Regions from separate parts of the Homo sapiens genome. Here region 2 is linked to region 1. The links are contacts of gene promoters, found by promoter capture Hi-C in human tissues and cell types (Jung and others, 2019). All regions are on one chromosome and are shown on one strand. The core of a region is centred on a gene start or on the middle of the fragment in contact, and the rest is flanking DNA. Distances in the headings are between cores, read along the strand shown.

Region 1 (3,240 bases), core at 619-3,118:
TCTGAGCTCCTGCTCCATGTTTCTGTTTTTTGGGGTGGATAGGTACCTGCTGGAGTGACTCAGGTCCACAGGGCACTTGTGCTGGCCTGACACACACAGATCTGAGTGCTTCAACCAAACTGGGACTCCTTCCACATTGTTCCCAAATCCAGGAGCAAGCCTCTCTGAACACTTTCTCTGTGCAGAACAGCTCTCAGATGACCAGGAAAGGTGGCGACTCACACATTTGCAACCAGCACCCCTGCAATCACTCTGAGAGGTAGCAGTGGAGGAATCTGTTTACAGATGACAGCATGGAGGCTCAGGGAGGCTGTGTGACCATCCCATTCACTCAACCACCCTTTTATTGAGCACCTGCTATGCACCAGGCATGGTGCTAGGTGCTAGAGAGTAGCTGCCCTTGGAGTCACAGTCCAACAGTGTGGCGAGATTCCTAAACATCATTTCAAACCAATGTGGCAAATGCCATGTAAAAGCCATGGCCCAAGGGTTATGGGGACACATAAACCAACTTGGGGTGTGGAGAGGTCAAGGAAGGCTCTCTAGCACGTGGTTGGTGCAACGTCTTCAAGGACAAGAAGGATAAACTGGGCTCAATGTCATGGGAAGGGACCAGCCTGTTGAAAAAGCACGGTGGCTTGAAACCGCATGGTTTGGACAGTGCTGTGCCAGCAGTCTGGTGTTGTTTGGCATTGCTGGCCAGTAAGCCTAGAGAAAAATGGAGCCCTGGCTGGGCATGGTGGTTCACGCCTATAATCCCAGCACTTTGGAAGGCCAAGACGGGTGGATCACCTGAGGTCAGGAGTTCGAGACCAGCCTGGCCAACATGATGTACTAAAAATACAAAAATTAGCCGGGCGTGGTGGCGGGCACCTGTAATCCCAGCTACTCGGGAAACAGGCAGGAGAAGCGCTTGAACCCGGGAGGCAGAGGTTGCAGTGAGCCAAGATTGCACCACTGCACTCCAGCCTCGGCGACAGAGTGAGACTCCATCTAAAAAAAAAAAGAGAGAGAAAACAAAAAGAAAAAGAAAAATGAAGCCCTTCTCTGACCTGAACACCCGTGGTAAGCAGTGGCAATGGAGAGACTGCTCTCAGAGGACTGACGGGAGGGAGGGGCCAGCTCTGTAACCAGCTTGTTAAGAACAACTGTAACAAGGCATCGAGTGCCAATCCATGCCAGGTCGGCACTGACCTCTCCAGGGTATCACTGTTCACACTGTAAGGAGATTTAAGTAGCTTGTTGAAGGGTGCACCGAGGACCCGACCCTTCCTCGGCTCTCCCTCTGGATACAACGTGAGGTTAGGGGTTGGAGGCTGAGAGGACCCCGTGAACTGCAGAGCAGAGCTGGGACGGGGAGTCAGGCCTCCCGACCGGGCCGGGGGCACTCCCTGGGCCCATGCCTCGCGCTGGCACGGAGAGCGGGGAGGGGGGTACGCGGCTGACGACCGTCGGGGCAGCAGCAGCAGCACAGCCCGGCGTTGGCTAGCGGCCCAGAGTCGGGGCAGGGAGGGTTCCCGTGCGGACGGGGGCTAAGAGGCCGCCTCCAGCCCGGGGCAGTCCGCGCACCCGAGCCTGGAGCCCGGAGCCTGGAGGGGTGGGGAGGCCCCGCGCCCAGGGCCGGACCGGAGGGAGAGGGAGAGCGGTGGCTCCTCCCCCGGCCCCCGCCGCTAGCCGATCGGGGCGCTGGGCGGGCGCCGCGGGAGCCGCAGCCCTTTCCGGGGGGCGGACCCGGCTCCGGCGGCGGCACCCAGCTCCTGCCCCGACAGGTGCGCGCCGCGCGAAGGAATGCAGCCGGTCTGACTCACCAGCGCCTCCTTCCTACCTGCGCGCCCGCCCCATAAAGCGCTGCCCGCCTCGTCCCCACCCCCCCAACCCCCGCGCCCGCCCTCGGACAGTCCCTGCTCGCCCGCGCGCTGCAGCCCCATCTCCTAGCGGCAGCCCAGGCGCGGAGGGAGCGAGTCCGCCCCGAGGTAGGTCCAGGACGGGCGCACAGCAGCAGCCGAGGCTGGCCGGGAGAGGGTGAGTGCCCGCCCCAGCTGGGCAGCCGCGCAGGGGAGCTGGTCGGGCAGGGCCGGTGGCTTTTGTCTCCCCTTCCCCTCCCTGAAGGCTGACAGGCCCCGGTCCCTCTGTCCACGCTGCGCAGGACAGGTGCCCAGCCTCCCCGGGGTGCGCCGGGGGCAGCTGGCAGCCAAGGGGCAGGGCAGCTAGAGAAGGGTGGTGCCCATCAGACCTCCAGGCCAGAGGAGCGCCTTGGGTGCGCCTGCGGGAGAAGTGGGCAGAGGCCAGTGGCTGGTAGCCCTCTGGGGCTGGGCCCCTCCAGGGTTTGCAAAGAAGGTGGAGTAGACACCAGCCTGAGTGCTGGGCCCAGCCCATCATGGCGCATCTAATGATAAACCAACATTCCTGACTTTTATGTGAAATTTCGTTCTTTCTAACATTGGCTCCTACTTTTAAAAGCCACCCTGAGAGGCAGACGCCATCCCGGCTCCAGGCAGGGCTTGCTCTATGCGGTGCCACAGTCCATCTGGGGCTGGGGAGTCCCTGATTTTCCTTTTCTCTTGGCCAAGCACAGGCCTGCCTTCCTCCCAAAGTCAGCCCCAGGCGCCTTCCTTCAGGAAGCTCTACAGGCCTCACCCACCAGCCCCAGGGCTGTGCCCAACACTGCCACCTCCTGCAGCATCCGCCCTCTTTCCCATGGCTCAGCCTCTGGGGTGGCCCTCTGGCTGGGACTGGGGCTCTGGGGCTCCTGGTGACTCCCAGGAGCAGGGACAGGGCTTCTCCTCTGCCCCCATGGCCTTGCCACACCCTGAGGACAAGGACCAGGCACAGGTGGCATGGTTGTTGCTGTCCGAAACAGAGCTGGCAGTGAAGGCTTGGAGTCTCCATCCTGGGGGCTGAGGGAAGGACAGCAGGAGGGACAGGAGGGGAGGTATGTCTGTCTACTCGACCCTGATTTCTCAGGGAGACAGAACAGCCAAGGGCCTGGGGTCCCCAGACTTCTGGCCAGCTGCCTCTCTGGGGCGAGGAAGGGCCTGGGTCCCTGAGGGGAGGAGATGTGACAGCGGGAGAGGATAGTGGACAGGAGCAGGTGTGCCCAGAGGGGTCCCCAGGGGTTGGGATGGGGGCCAGGGGAGCTCTGAGCCTGTGGGTGGGTGGGCATGGCCTGTGTGTGTGTGTGTGTGTGTGTGTGTGTGTGTGTCCCTGTGGGGGGGAAACTGCCTGTGCTGCAGTGTGATG
Region 2 (3,562 bases), core at 290-2,789, 370 kb before region 1:
CTGCAACCTCCGCTCCTGGGTTCATCCCATTCTCCTGCCTCAGCCTCCTGAGTAGCTGGGACTACAGGCGCCCGCCACCACGCCTGGCTAATTTTTTTTGTATTTTTAGTAGAGACGGGGTTTCACCGTGTTAGCCAGGATGGTCTCGATCTCCTGACCTCGTGATCCGCCAACCTCAGCCTCCCAAAGTTGTGGGATTACAGGCGTGAACCACCGCACCCCGCCCGACAACAGAGTTTATTTAATTCCACGTAAGACTATGATTCAAGGGGTCAATGAAAGGACTGATCGATTTTCAGTCGTTCTGTGACCCAAGAGCCACCTCAGAGGATGTTATTGAAAGAAGAAAAAGCAATGTTGGTCACAGAACTATTCACCAACGTGTGCATAAGGATACAGGACTGAAAAACTCAAGGCTGGGGTCCTCCCACCAGGACACCGTTAATTTCCAACTCAAAAAGCTAGTTCCAAATGCATTTTCTACTTCTGAAGCAGTTAATCTAGTTCCAAATCGGGAAAGGCTTGTTATAATCACATGACAGAGGAAGAGGAACTGGGGTAGAGTGGCAAGTCCCTACCCCCACCCCCACCCCCACCCCCAGGGTGGAGGCGAATGCAGAGAGTTCAACAGGTAATGACAATACAAACTGCAAATGTGGATTCAAGCTAGTGGACAGGGTCAGGGAGCAGAAAACACAGGGACCTAAACTAGTCTCGGGGTGGGGGCTGCCTGAGAAAGCCTCCCCAAGCCAGTGACATTTGAAGGGAGATCAAAGGCTCTCCTGTGGGTGGTCTGGCAGAAGACCACAGTATGCAAATTAAGAAGCTCAAGCTTATATGTTACAATCATCAGAAGTCGCTGAGAGTGACATTCAGGTTTGCATTTTTCAAAAGCTCCTCTGGCTGACTGTGAGATGAACTGCAAGGAGGTGCAGGTGGGTGGGGCAGTGCGGTAGAGAGGAGAGAGTCGAGGTATTTCTGGAGGTAGAATCAAAAGGACTTGGTGATGAGATGCTGCTCAGTGGTCTTCCTCTCGGCCACTGATTTTTTTTTTTTTTTTTTCTGAAAACTGCTTTAGAAAAACTGCTATATTGGCTGGGCACAGTGGCTGATGCCTGTAATCCCAGCACTTTGGGATGCCAAGGCAGGCGGATCACTTGAGGTCAGGAGTTCAAGACCCGCCTGGCCAACATGGTAAAACCCTGTCTCTACTACAAAATACAAAAAATTATCTGGGCACGGTGGCGGGCGCCTGTAGTCCCAGCTACTCGGGGGGCTGAGGCAGGAGAATCGCTTGAACCTGGGAGGCAGAAGTTGCAGGGAGCCGAGACTGCGCCACTGCATTCCAGCCTGGGCAATAGAGTGAGACTCCGTCTCCAAAAAACAAAGACAGGTATCAATCTTATGCTGGTATCCTCCATCTGTCTCTCCAGATCCAGTTACACCTTGCTTTTCTTGCCTTTTTTTTTTTTTTTTTTTTTTTGAGACAGAGTCACACTCTTTGCACAGGCAGGAGTGCAGTGGTGCAATCCTGGCTCACTGCAACCTCCACCGCCCGGGTTCAAATGATTCCCCTGCCTCAGCCTCCCAAGCAGCTGGGATTACCACACCTGGCTAATTTTTGTATTTTTTAGTAGAGACGGGGTTTCATCATGTTGGCCAGGCTAGTCTCAAACTCCTAACCTCAAGTCACCTTGGCCTCTCAAAGTGCTGGGATTACAGGCATGAGCCACTGTGCCCAGCCTGCTCTGACTTTTTGGCTCTGTAAGAACCACATCAACAGGCTCCCTCACTCTCTGGCTCCCAGTGCTATTAATCAATGGGGAGGCCTGCAGAAGGTCAGACGAAGGGAGGGTCAGGTCAGGGCATTCATTCTCCCAGCTCCCACCCTGAGAGTGTCTGTGGACAGTCTTGGACTCTCAATTGAAAGTAAGTCCTTTCCTTCTCCAGGTTTGGGCAACTCCTCCCCCTTCCTTCTCCCTGTCGTAGGCCTCATGGTGGTAACCTGATTACCAGCTGTGGACACTGCATTATCCCTGTGGTTTCTAGAGAAACTTCGCCCACACTGATAGCGGCAGGAGGCAGACAAATGCCTCACAGGGGCGGGTCTCCAGTGAAACCCCACCTCTAAGCCAAAGACAACTGAAAGCCTGAAAGCCACACTACAGGTCAAATCCATGGACCGGACTGAGAACCCATCTTCCCATTTGGTAGGCTTTCCTCTGATTGATCCCCACTCTTCACCTATTTTACATCTACCTACCCTTTCCGAATTGATTTTCTACACTGCCATGCCCATCTTTGAGTGGTGCCTTTGCTTTAGCCTTTCTTTGCATGCCCACAAACCATTCAGCATGCATGCCCCTGTTCTGAGCCCATAAAAGCCCCCACCCAGCCACACTGGGAGAGAAACCACCAGACTTCAGGGGTGGGGAACCACTACCTCCTCCGCTCCTGAAAGCTGTTCACCGCTCAATAAAATTCTTCTCCACCCTCCTCACCCTTAAATTGCCAGTGTAACCTCATTCTTCTCAGACACAGGACAAGACCTTGGGAACTGCTGAACCTGGGAACAAGCCATAACACAGGTGAGCTGGGGCATACCCAGCCCAGCCATGAGCTGAGCTGGTGCGCAACCAAGACTTAGCCTGAGTGGGCTGAGTGTGGAGGTCCCCAGCTGGAGTCAACACCTTGCAAATAGTCTCATTATTAAAATCCTCTCAATTTAAGTGTGTCAGGTGTTCTCTACCAGGACTCAGACTGAAATTAGCCTAAAATCAGTTGTATATGTCTTTTGGAATGCATTAAGGACATGCTCCTTTATATAAAGTGACATTTGTTATGGGGCAGAAAGTATCCAAATTCTACCAACTACTTGGAAGAAGAAAACTATAAAAGAGCCAAACAATTCTGTTCTGTTAACCGCTTTTTCAAAATTTGAGACAGGGGTCTTGCTCTGTGGCCCAGGCTGGAGTGCAGAGGCACAATCACAGCTCAATGCAGCCTCAGCCTCCCGGGCTCAAGTGATCCTCCCGTCTCAGATCTTCCCACAAATAGCTCGGACTACAGATGCCAGCCACTACAGCTGGCTACTTTTAAAATTTTTTTGTGGAGGCAGGGTCTCACCATGTTGCCAAGGCTGGTCTGGAACTCCTGGTCTCAAGGTATCCTCCCATCTCAGCCTCCCAAAGTGCTGGGCTATAGGCATGAGCCATAATGCCCAGCCCTATTCTGTTTACTATTAAAAGTTGAGAAAGGGGGTGAAGGTATAAAAACCTCAGATTTGTAATCTGACCATTACTAGACTGGCATAATGACTTGCAGTAGCTGCCCCTTTGAATTGCACTTTAGATATTGTTCAAGTGTCTACTACACTGAAAGCATTGTGTTAGGAAGCTGAAAAGGGAATAAGAATAAAAGGCATGGTCCCTGCCCTCAGAAGTGTTTATGAGCTAAGGGAGCTATGTGTGTAAATAAAGAGGAAATAAGTAAAAAAGTGAGATAAGGGAAATTGCTGATTTTGAGCTGGACACAGAATTCACCGCTACATGTTTCTATTTAC

The links. Contacts are between HindIII fragments. The study calls those that stand out against the background at their distance.
Region 2: a fragment that was not itself captured here is called in contact with the fragment with the promoter of ITGB4 in region 1 in 3 of the 25 tissues and cell types used here (IMR-90 fibroblasts, dorsolateral prefrontal cortex and hippocampus).

Annotation. Positions count from the first base shown.
Region 1 is chr17:75,719,591-75,722,830 of GRCh38, forward strand. ITGB4 (integrin subunit beta 4) reads left to right here and starts at 1,869. Exons shown (of 40, transcript NM_000213.5): 1 at 1,869-2,022. RefSeq lists silencers at 1,432-1,491, 1,502-1,891 and enhancers at 1,612-2,150, 2,151-2,689. The HindIII fragment of the contact is 11,256 bases long and covers 1-3,240 here.
Region 2 is chr17:75,345,119-75,348,680 of GRCh38, forward strand. The region is part of intron 2 of GRB2 (growth factor receptor bound protein 2); the gene reads right to left. Among named protein-coding and RNA genes, the nearest start is that of SLC25A19, 57 kb to the left of the region's middle. RefSeq lists enhancers at 1-919, 294-573, 2,184-2,243, 2,254-2,333 and silencers at 1,904-2,072, 1,984-2,043. The HindIII fragment of the contact is 8,077 bases long and covers 1-3,562 here.